Regions from separate parts of the Homo sapiens genome. Here all the other regions are linked to region 1. Evidence: promoter capture Hi-C in 16 types of primary human blood cells and fetal thymus (Javierre and others, 2016). All regions are on one chromosome and are shown on one strand. The core of a region is centred on a gene start or on the middle of the fragment in contact, and the rest is flanking DNA. Distances in the headings are between cores, read along the strand shown. Region 1 holds the start of ROPN1B (rhophilin associated tail protein 1B). Region 2 holds the start of LOC107986044 (a long non-coding RNA gene). Region 3 overlaps ZXDC (ZXD family zinc finger C).

Region 1 (3,700 bases), core at 747-3,246:
CTCAGTCAGACAGTGCTATGAAATTCCTCCCTTGTGTTTAACCTGCTACTCTAAAATTCTATTTTATTTCATCTTCCATCTCCAGCTGTTAGTGCTTTGTCTGAAAAACCTGTTCTTCTGCACAAAGATCATTATTATTCATTCCTGTCAGTATTATTTACTCAGCATGAAAGCAGGAAGAGATTGGCACACCTTCATCTCATGTGCATACAACAGAACAGACTCCAGTGGCCAGAGCATTCTTGTTATCCTGGAAGATGCACCTGCAGCCCTCAAGCCTCCAGCCTCCCCCTCCCAACCTAAGGCACACTCTGTTGGTCAGGTGCCTGTACCAACACCTGGTAGCCCCTCCACAGAGGCCTCAGAAAGATAGGTGATAGCTAGTGACTAGGTTTCTTTCATCCCCAGATCTTGCCCTGTGGGCAGTGGCCGTCCCCAGACCATCCAGGATTCTCCAGGTGTGCAAGGACCTGCAGGATTTTGACAAATGCCAGCAGAGTGGCCTCTTTACAAATGGATGACAACAGGCTGTGAAAAGCTTTCTGCATGCATAAGCCAAAAATCTAGTTCCCCCACTTGTTCACTGATGCTTAAAATTGCTTTAGGGAGAGACAAAGGCTTTCATCTCACAACCAGAGAAAGCTCTGAAGACCCTGGGTGAATTAATTGATTTAGACTAATACACACTGTAGTATAAATGGACTGAAGGATTACATGATGCAATGAGCAGCTTTCATATGGGTGTGAAGTGACACGGGGTGTAGCAGAGAAAGATGGGGCTTTTCTTGCCTCTTTGGGTGCTTAAAAAGAACAGTCTTGAGGCCAGGTGCGGTGGCTCACACCTGTAATCCCAGTGCTTTGGGTGACCAAGGGGGGGTGGATCACTTGAGCCCAGGGGTTCAAGACCAGCCTGGGCAACACGGCAAAACCCTGTTTATAAAAATATAAAAATTAGCCTGGTGTGGTGGCACACACCTGTAGTCTCAGCTACTTGGGAGGCTGAGGTGGGAGGATTGCTTAGACCTAGGAGATTGAGGCTGCAGTGAGTCATGATTACCCCATTGCATTCCAACCTGGGCAACAGAGTGAGACTCTGTCTCAAAACAAAGCAAAGCAAAACAAAACAAAACAAAAACAACAGTCTTGAAATCAGAAGACCTGGAGACAAGTTGGGCCCTGGGCCCTACTGCCAGCTGTTTGATCACAGGCAAAATTACTCGAAGCCTTGAGCCTGTTTTCTAAAACGAAGGTAATATCTACCTTCAGAGTTTACTGTGAAACTTTGATGTCATCATGTTTGTAAAAGTGCCCTGGCACAGTGACCACATTCTACCCTATAAATATTTTCTATCTTTCCCTGTTGTCCCCAGGCATCTCAGGCTCTGTTCCTATCCACTCCATGCCCCTTTCTTAGCATTATAAGGTCAAGAGTGAGGAATCTGGGACCACGCAACCCAGATTCAGATCCTGACTCTGTCACTTGCTGACTGTCATCTTGGACAAGTTTAACCTCTCTGTGCTCAGTTCCCTCATCTGTAAAAATGGGGATAACAATAGTACTTGCCTCATGGGGTGACAGTAAGGATGAAATGAGTTCATGTGTGTAATGCACTTAGAACAATTCCTGGCACCAAAAACGCATTGTAAGAGGTGTTGTTGCTATGATTCCTGAGGAATTCTCACCTGTCCACTTTCCACAAGCCGAAAGATCAAGCTCCACTTCTGCCCTCTCACCTACAAAAGCGCACCGTCAATGGCTACACATTCCGCCCCACCCCCAACGCCCCCAGCCCGGGTTTCCTAACGTCCCCAGCCCAGTCCTTAACCCTCCAGGCCGTCTGGTCCTTCCACCACCAGCAAAGCCCAAAACAGCTTTCAGCGTCCCCTAGCAGCGCCCTAGCGGGACCCTGGGAACCCGCCGCTGCAGGAGAGGCGGGGCGGCTCTGTGACGTCGCGCCCGGCGCTACCCCTGGTGACCTGGCAGCGGAGCCCGCGCAGGGTTTGCCAGGCGAAGGCGGAGCGCTAACGTCTAACGCTAACGGCGGTCGTGCCCCGCCGCTGCTGTCACCCCCGGCCGCTGCTGCCCTCCCCGCCGAGGTTCTACTGCTCTCCTTCTTAAGAAGGGTGGGAGGCACTCGGTCTCTCCCCACACCTCTCGCCTGAGGCCAGGCGCCAGGTGTCGCCTGAAGCCAGACAGCCGGTTTGGGAGCGAGCCTGAGGTAGCCACCCCGAGGGGAAGTGGAGGGAGGGCAGGGCTCTGAGCGCCCCGAGGGCTGCGCTGGTCTGAGGGAGGAGCCCTGCCGGACGCCCCCTGGATTCTGAGCCTCTCCTTGTTCACAGGGCAAGGGGAGGGCAAGGGGAAGGCAAGGGGATCTTCAAGAGAATGTGACTGTGGGGGATTATGGCTTTCTGGCCAATTTGTGTGCGTATTTTGTACCCAGAATACTATTATACGGTTTCTTACCCGGAGGACAGTGGTTGGGAGGCTCAAGAGTTTGGAATCAGAGCCCTCCACCGAGGAGCCACACCTCTGCTTTTTCATCAGCGACAGGGATATAAAAATACCTCTGGGTGAATTGTCATGTGGACCAATGGGCATACCTAGCACTTCATAGACTCCTATCACACATTATTTTATACCTAGCACTTCATAGACTCCTGTCAGGCATTATTTTATACCTGGCACTTCATAGACTCCTATCACATATTATTTTATACCTAGCACTTCATAGACTCCTATCACGCATTATTTTATACCTAGCACTTCATAGACTCCTATCACGTGTTCATTTTATAGCTAGCACTTCATAGACTGCTATCACGCATTCATTTTTACTAGTACCTATTGAACACTAAGTTCCAGGCACTGGGCTAGGCACTGGGATGGTGTGGTGAGCAAAAACTGACCAGTCCTGCCGTGGAGTTTGCTGGGGGAGACACATGTTACTCAAAGAATCACACTAAGGATAGGTAAGTGATGCTCTGGAAGGGTATGTACAATGGAACTGACAGGGTAATCAGGGAAGGTTAAGCAGACCTCCAAAGGAAGAATCAACCTGTTAAGAGGAGGAGAATGCATTCCAAACAAGAGTAACCACATCCCAAACCCACCACCTCCAATTCCGAACCCAAACAGGGATGTGCAGTTGTCTGTGCTTGGTTCCAAGCCGCTCATAGAAACCCTCTGAGATTCTGCCCTGGAGCCTTTCATTCATGTAATGGAGACTTTCATTTATGAAATGGAAGCCCTGTTTAGCCCATACCAATAAAAACAAGTGAGAAATCCCTGAAACAAGACTATACAGTCTATTTTAAGACCTACATTCTTCAGCACTTGGCAGGTATACGTTGGGCTGCCATTTCACATTGGGAGGCATGTTTTGTTTGCTTTTTTGTGTTTTTTAAAAATTCCTTTCTTCCCCCCTCTCCGAGAAACACCCAAGAATGATCAATAAATACTAAAAAAATTTTAAAAAATCCTTTTTTCCTCTGTACAGATTTAGTGGTTATTACTGTTAAAACTTTTCTAATACTTTGCAAAGTCTAAAATTAATCATTATTTTATCATCCTTTTCCTCCAAATAAAAGAACATAAATAAAGTAAAAGGTCATGAAGTCCCACCAATCTAAGACCACTTTAGTTTCTTGTCTTGGGATTTCCGAGCCATGCTGGTGTTGGTATAAATGGAAAACTTAGAAC
Region 2 (4,045 bases), core at 1,168-3,667, 420 kb after region 1:
GCCTGACCAGGGCCGGTTTTCAACTTGTTTACAAGCCTGCGTCACCGGGAACCTTTCACCGCCGCCTGGGACAAAAGGTTCCTCTTTGTAAGTCCCTTCTGGGCAGAAAGGGGATTCGCCGCCCGGCGCGCTGACGGTGCGGGGCGCCACGCCGTGGCGGATGCGGACAGCGCGCGGCCGGTTCGCCCGTCTGCCCCCTAGCGCCCTGCTCTTCCCGCCGAGCGCGTAGTCTGCCCATAGCCTCGGCCACCAGCCCCCTTTACATCGTCCACCCACCCACAGCGTCCTGCCGTCCACGCCTCGCCCACCCACGGGTTCCCCGCAGTCCGTGCCTCGTCCACCCACTCACTCATCTGCGCGTGGCTCAAACAGGCATGCCTTGTCCACTCCCTCCACAGGAATTTCCTCCTTTCATGGAAACAACTTGCCCTCCCGTCCACCGTCCACTCCATTCCCCATTCACTGTCCATTGACTCATTTGAGGAACTATCCTATGAACACCTTCCAGGTGCTACGCGTTGCGGTCAGCAGGTCACAGGACACAGCTCCTGTCCTCTGGGACCTCCAGGACAGCAGAGGAGACACCAGCAGAGGTCCTCGTGAAGTGATCATGGCTCTGGGGGCAAAAAGAGGACATATCAGCCGAGACTTGGGCGCAGGGGTGGCGAGGCTGGGGCTGAGACGGAAAGACTGGCTGCGGAAGAGATGGGAGGAGGACAGGGGCTAGGCCCTTGGCAGGGGCTCGGCAGAGGGGAAAGCCTGGAAACCAAGTGGGCTCCAGGCAGAGGGCACCGAGGGGGCCGCGGGAAGAGGCCAGACCCGAAAGTCCTCGTCAACAGCGCCACAGAGCTCGGGCATCACCCGGGGTCACGGTGCCCCCCAGCAATTTCTTCTACTTTTCACTGTTTTGTTATTATAGAAGTAATACATGTCTACAACTTCATTGTAAAGAAAAATGAGAGCGAGCAATAGGAAAAAAATAATCAGCCATAATCTCGCCTCGCAGACATAGTTTTCGGTGTATGTGCACATACGCGGTTTCCCCAGGCATCCGCTGGAGAGCGGCGCTCCTGGGCTAGATGACGAGGGAACCCAGAGCGAGCTGCCTACCTCAGGGCTTGCAGACACCTGGGTGGGGATGTCATGGAGTGGGTGCTATGGCCAAGCCAGAATCCATTCAGATCCCCCCATCCCTTTCCCTAACACAACGGATGCCGTCCAGGCACCAGCCCTATGGCACCGGGATGGGGCCTCCCACAGAGTCCCCAGCTTCTATCCCTGGCAGCGATTAGTTTAGGCATGCAGTTTTTTGGCTAAGATATGAGGAGAGGTGTTCTGAGGGGCTACTCATGAGAAGTTTCTTTGTAAGTCATTTCTGGTGAAGCTTTCTGTTTCTTGAAGCAAAATACAACCTAAATGATACCTGAAACTAGTGTAAAGACTACCTTCCCCGGGCTCCTGGGGCTAAATCACGCCCTCCCGGGGAGCACCCCTGATGCTCACATCTCCTACCCTTCCTCCTGTATCTGGATCCCACCCTAGCCTCCTCAGCACCATGGTCCCTCCAGCTTGCCTTCTGCCTCTACACACACTCTCTCTCTGTCTCTCTCTCTCTCTGTATGTCTCTTTCATTTCCTCTACGCCCACAACCTGGTCTAGTCTCAACCCCTCTTCCTGGCTGGCTGACCACAGTCCCCTAACCACCTGGGACCTGCACCCCACCCCCACCTGTGGAGACCACGCCCAGGAGCACACCTGGGAACCAGGCCAGTGCCATGCAGTTTTCTCACCTGCCATGCTGCATGCCCCAGCATCCTGCCTTCTGAACTGTGGCACTGGGGGTCTGGCTTTAATGACCTAGCCTCCACCAGAGCTGCAGGGAAGACCAGGGTCATTTCTCCAGGCCCACTGTGGGTCTGCACACCCATAAGGGAGCAAGATAGAGCCACTGCCAGGACCCTCAAAAGTGCTGTCCAGGGCACTTTCTCCTCTTCCTCGTCACCCATCCATCTCAGTCCCCCAGGAGATCCTGAAACTGCTCACACCAAGGTCAACCGATTTGTTGGCAAATCCAATGAACACTCTTCAGTCCCTCTCACTTGGCCACTCAAGAGCACTTGGCAATGTGGACCCCTTTCTTCTTCTCCTTTTGAAAATATTTATTGAGATATAATTTACATATCTAAACTTCACCCACTTAAAGTGCATTTTACTATATTCAGAGTAAATCTAATGTTCACCATAGTCTAATTTTAGAACACTTTCATCACCCTAAAGAGCAAAATCCCATCTCCATTAGCCACCACTGCCCATTTGCCTGTTTCCCCAATTCCATCTAGGCGCCTTCATAGGATATGTGGTCTCTTGTGACCACATATGAGCCCAGTCTTACTCTGGGCTCCAAGACCTTCTTTTTTATTCCACTAGCACTGTTTCTCTGACACTGTGGTCAAATGTGATATGCCTGGGATGTGGATGCCAAAAGTCATCCCTGTTTTTTCCTAGACTCCAATCAAATTATCCATCCATCTGAGCTGGCAGGAAAGCAATCTGATTAATGTGATTGCTCACAAAATATAAAAAGCATGCCAGGCTAGAGCACCTGGCAGGCACTGGTTGGGGACACGTTCCCAGAGAGGGAGGGGGGATGGGGCTTCAGACACTCTTTAAGGACTTTGCAGCTTTCCCCTGAAACATGGTCCTGCAGGCCACAACCCATGCAGGGGCTCCTAGGTCAGTGTAAGTAGTGCAAAGAGCTCATATCACTGCCCTCCCTGTGGAAAGCCCTTGACTCACCGTGAAGCACGGTAGACATGGCTGTCATTCTCCATAACCTACCACCTCTCAGCAAAAGGAAAACCCCCATGTGAGAGATCTGGGCATCTAAGGCATTTTACCTTGAAGGTGACTCTCCAATCCAGCCTGGCCTGCTGTGCTGTAGAACAACGGTGAGACCAGGTGCTGCAGGAAAGAAATACAAGCTGCTCTCTCAGGCTTTGTCGTTCTGGTAGACCTCTGAATACCCTGTCTGGGTACAGGACTACTCCTGACCCCCCTGGTTTCTGAGTCCCTCCTCCCACGGCAGAAGCCAAAGATCTTGTGTGGAAGGCGGGAGGTGCAGGCAGGCGATCCAGGTGCTGCCTACCGGTCAGGAGTGCATAGCAGACTTCGGATCACAGCATGTTCTCTGCCAGAACGCGCCTGCGATGGCTTTGGGCTCCGCTCCAGGCTACAGCATCTCCCAGCTTGATTCCCTATCGTCCTACAGAGTCTGGGGGCACCCCCATGTCCTTTTCTCCCCCAAGTGGCTATAGTTGCTTTCTGTTGTTTATTCCCGAGAGCCCAGACTGATATACCTTCTTTGAGGAGGAAAATACGAAATCTGAAATACGAATTTCTCCTTTAAGAAGATTGTTAGCTTTTCCCAAAATGTTTGATTATGAACATTTTCAAGCTTCAAACATACAGAAATGTTGGAAGGATTTTGAAGCAGACATCCACATGCCCACTGCCTGGGCTGGACAGCTCACAGGCCACTACGATTCACCACACAGCCAGCCAGCCACCATTGCTCCACCAATCATGCATCTGATTTTAAAAATTAGCTTTTAATCAGCAAATGGTATTTCTAGTTAGACCTGTTAGGCTAAGACTAAAAGTTCCAAATCAGGTCACGTTTTCTAGGTGGTTTTCTTTCTAACCTTGTAAGCTACCAAGAGCAAAAACAAAGGCCAGAACACACAAACTGACAGATAACTTGCCTTTATTATGAAGTACACCTTTGGACTTGTGGGGTTTTTTTCCCAAAGCTTGTGCATCATTGTCTGGGATAACTGCATAAAATGGAAGGACGATTCCTGGTGAGAGGCAGTGTGTTCTAGGTAAGAGCAAAGCTGGAATCCGCTGTCTCACTGTGTCCCTGCTCTGTCCACACCGGCAACTCATGCAAAGGCAGGGTGATCATGCAGGTGAAATGGGTGGATTGGTGTCAAGTGCGTGGAACAGTACCTGGCACATAGAAAACACTCTGTAAGGTTCATGGGGA
Region 3 (3,619 bases), core at 1,078-3,577, 500 kb after region 1:
TTTTGATCAACTACACTACCCTGACTCTCCTCCATTTATACTCTTCTTTGAGAATTTCATCCACTTTTGTGGCTTAAATGATGATTCGGGTGCTGTCTGCTTCGCTCCCTGCCTGGCCTGCTCTCCCCAGCACCAGTGGCACATCCCCTGCCCTCTGCGCATTAGACGCACAAGGGTACCAAAAACACAACATGTCCAAACCAAACTCTGCTTCCTCCAAATCCACTCAGCTGACACACTGACATCAACTAAAATCCAAATCCATCACCATATACTGTGACTTCTAACTCCCACCTCTGCTATTGATGCCCCTTTCTCTTTTCCCACTGTTAAGGCCCCCGTCCAGGCCATCCCACCTCCCCACACCCCTGGCTGCTTTCAATCCTGAAGCCAGGCTAAGCCACAACTCAAACATGATGACATCATACGCTCACCCAAGCACTCAAGCCTGCCACTCCTGGCCCTGAGAGGCTCTCCCAGGCCACTCCGCCTCCAACACCCACACGCACGTGTCTGGTGCTCTCCCCTCTTCTTCAGCTGACCGCGAGGCCGTTCTCACCCCGGTCTGGGGAAACTCTCTGCGCCCCTGCAGCACCCTACATGTTACCTGTTCCCCTGTCTGCACCTCCAGCTGAAACTCTGACGGAAGGAGGAACTGTTTCTCAGTTACACCACTTGTATATATGTTCATTATGTTCTAAGAGCTAGGCTCAGCTTTAAATGGGTCTTTATTATTCTCTCTTCCAGGTAAGGAAACCAAGGCCCAGAGAAGCAGCTTGACTGAGGCCACCACTTTAGGGAGCGGTAGAGCCAGACTTTGAATCCATGACCACCCGACGTGTCCTGGCTCACTGCCTCCCAGTGCACCTGCAGAACTAGAGTAGGGCCAGCACGCACAAGTCACGCACAGGTCACGCAGCCAATTTCTGGCAAATGAACTGAGCCTTCAGTGTTTTAAAGGAAAAAACCACTCTACTATACCTTTTAAAAAGTCAGGTTGGGCGTGGTGGCTCACACCTGTAATCCCAGCACTTTGGGAGGCCAAAGTGGGTGGATCACTTGACGTCAGGAGTTTGAGACCATCCTGGCCAACATGGTGAAACCCTGTCTCTACTAAAAGCATAAAAATCAGCCAAGCGTGGTGGCATACGCCTGTAGTCCCAGCTACTCAGAAGGCTGAGGCATAAGAATCACTTAAACCTGGGAGGCAGAGGTTGCAATGAGCCAAGATCACACCATTGCATCCAGCCTGGGTGACAGAGCAAGACTGTCTCAAAAATTAAACAAAAAAAGAAAAAGTCAGTCTAGCTTTACTGCTCTCCAATTACAAAATGATTGGAGTGACAATTCAAACGTGATCTCAAAAGTACCTACCATTTACTGAGTCCGAGCTCCATGCCAGATGGATAAACAGGCATTTTCCACATTTCACCTAATCCTCACGACCACCAAATTAAACAGGTAACTTAACTAGAGCCACAGATCTAATGAGGATCAGGGCCATGAGTCAAACTGCGTCTGATTCTCAAGTCACTGCTCCCAAAATAGTACAATTAACTCAATGAGGTAAGTAAACATAATGCTGCAACTTATATTGAGTCAGTCTTTAAGCAGCTAACATTTACCTTTAAACAACGGAAACTTAACAGGATAAATGTTGGCATTGCACTTAGTTTACTGCTCAAAGCAATGTTTTAAAATCTACCTTCCACAGGACACTCGAACGGCTTTGTGCCTAGGTGGGTTATGCTGTGGCCTTTCAGATGCTCTGCTCTGGTGAATGATTTCCCACAGCCCTCGACAGGGCAGGTAAACCTCCGGTCATCGTCATGTTTCCTGCCAGACAGAAAAATAAAGGAGCTGTGATTCCTCACACAACTCACCATAATTCTTTAAAATTCTACAAAACATACCAAAACACAAACTTTGCATTTACAAAAATGATCAGTACATTTCGGAAAATCTTAATTCTGTCTTTAATCCATGTGAGCAGATTTGCAATTTAGCTACCCCATAAAAATTCTACTTTAATGACTAAGCTGACCCCAGAGTCACACATCAAACAATTAATGCTACTTCAATCTAATATAAGCTAATCTAAGAACAGTGGAGTCCCAAATGTATTGATGAAGGTGTTTCTATTGTTTAGAAACCCCAATGATCAACAAGCTTTCCGAGCGACAGACGGTCGTGAGAAATGTGCACAGAGCATCAGCTGCAATGCCAAAAGGACTCTCTTAAGCCAACTTGTAAAGACTGTGTCTTTTCCTAAGTGACATTTTTATATTAAATCCTCAGAGCCCAGCTGTGCAAGTACAGAAAAACCACTGAATCTCTCCGAGTCTCACTGTAAAACAGGGAGAATAAGAACATTAGCTTTGAGGTTGTTGGGAAGGTAGAAGACACACATGTAAAGTGCTGAGTGTCACCTGGACACAGTCTCCAGGGTTGTCATTACCACCATGAAAACTTGTAATTACATGAAGAAAGCTTATTCTACAATGTTAAGTTAAAAAAAAAACCTGGAATTGTTTTTTTTTTAAGAACAGAGTATGCCAATTTAGCTTTTTTTAAAAAAAGTATACACAGAAAAAACTGACTTCAGGTGATGAGATTCTGAGCAATTTTCTTTTTACAGTTTTCTGAATTTTCCAAATCATCAACACTGAGCTCCTTTTTTAACAACTTAAAAAATGTCTACAGATATTTCATTCATTGGTTTCTGCTGCTGACAAACCACTCATTTTCAAACCTGATAATGCAAACCAAAATGTAAGGATTACCTTCTGTGCCTTAGAAGTTTGGACATGCTGGTGAAGGTCCAGCCACAGCTGTCAGAGTCACAAATAAATGGTCTTTCACCTTATAAAAGAAAAAATTATACAGCATAAAATTTACAACTCCAACAGCTACGATGAAGACAAATCTTGGGTCCAAATGCTGTGCGTTCCCTAGCTCATTACCTGTATGGCTCCGCAGGTGAATTTTCAGCCGACAGGCTTTATCATACTGCTTGCTGCACCCAGGAAAGGAGCAGGAAAAGAGCTCTTGTTCCCTGAAGTGGGCTCGGTTATGGGAAAACAGGGCACTCACTGTGATAAATGTCTTCTCACAGCCTGAACAAGGAAAACACAAACCCTGCTCAAAGCGTGGCAAAAATTATACAACATAGCTAATGCTAGTCACACCCACCAGACCCTGTTCACACTGAAGCAGACAAGGGAAAACATGACTCAGAAGCACTCTCTAAAAAGGGAAGACCATTAATGCTTGGCTTTGTGATCACCACAGGAAGGCAGCTAATGGCAGCCAATAGGCACACGCTGGCCACCTGTTGCAACATGACTTGGAGATGGAGCAACCGATAAAGAGAAAGTCCTCCGTTCACAGCCATCTACTGGCCGGCTCCGGAGCACTGATCCTGCACACACACTGAGACCCAAGAACCCCATGAGAGAAATCAAATACTAAGGAACAAGATTTTGTCTGGTAGGGTTGATCTTTGAAAGGCTACAAATCATCCTACTAGCCAGGATTTTTCACCCCTTGGGGGTGATGCTGCATCCTCTACATATCCAAATTTCCTCCCTGACACCCTCCAACTGCCAGCCCTGTCCCT

What was found. The method cuts DNA at HindIII sites, captures the fragments that hold promoters and counts their contacts. A CHiCAGO score of 5 or more calls a contact.
Region 2: a contact is called between a fragment that was not itself captured here and the fragment with the promoter of ROPN1B in region 1, in 1 of 17 cell types (monocytes). The highest score is 5.8, in monocytes.
Region 3: a contact is called between a fragment that was not itself captured here and the fragment with the promoter of ROPN1B in region 1, in 1 of 17 cell types (total CD8 T cells). The highest score is 5.8, in total CD8 T cells.

The regions. Positions count from the first base shown.
Region 1 is chr3:125,967,182-125,970,881 of GRCh38, forward strand. ROPN1B (rhophilin associated tail protein 1B) reads left to right here and starts at 1,997. Exons shown (of 7, transcript NM_001308313.2): 1 at 1,997-2,219. It also overlaps the pseudogene ALG1L1P. The HindIII fragment of the contact is 3,412 bases long and covers 537-3,700 here.
Region 2 is chr3:126,389,286-126,393,330 of GRCh38, forward strand. It overlaps LOC107986044 (a long non-coding RNA gene), which reads right to left and starts at 2,963. Exons shown (of 3, transcript XR_001740563.1): 1 at 2,898-2,963; 2 at 350-616. It overlaps CFAP100-DT (CFAP100 divergent transcript), which reads right to left. Exons shown (of 2, transcript NR_103789.1): 2 at 3,747-4,008. RefSeq lists an enhancer at 247-795. The HindIII fragment of the contact is 2,070 bases long and covers 1,383-3,452 here.
Region 3 is chr3:126,469,190-126,472,808 of GRCh38, forward strand. It overlaps ZXDC (ZXD family zinc finger C), which reads right to left. Exons shown (of 10, transcript NM_025112.5): 2 at 2,964-3,116; 3 at 2,784-2,862; 4 at 1,706-1,836. Among named protein-coding and RNA genes, the nearest start is that of ZXDC, 4.9 kb to the right of the region's middle. The HindIII fragment of the contact is 321 bases long and covers 2,168-2,488 here.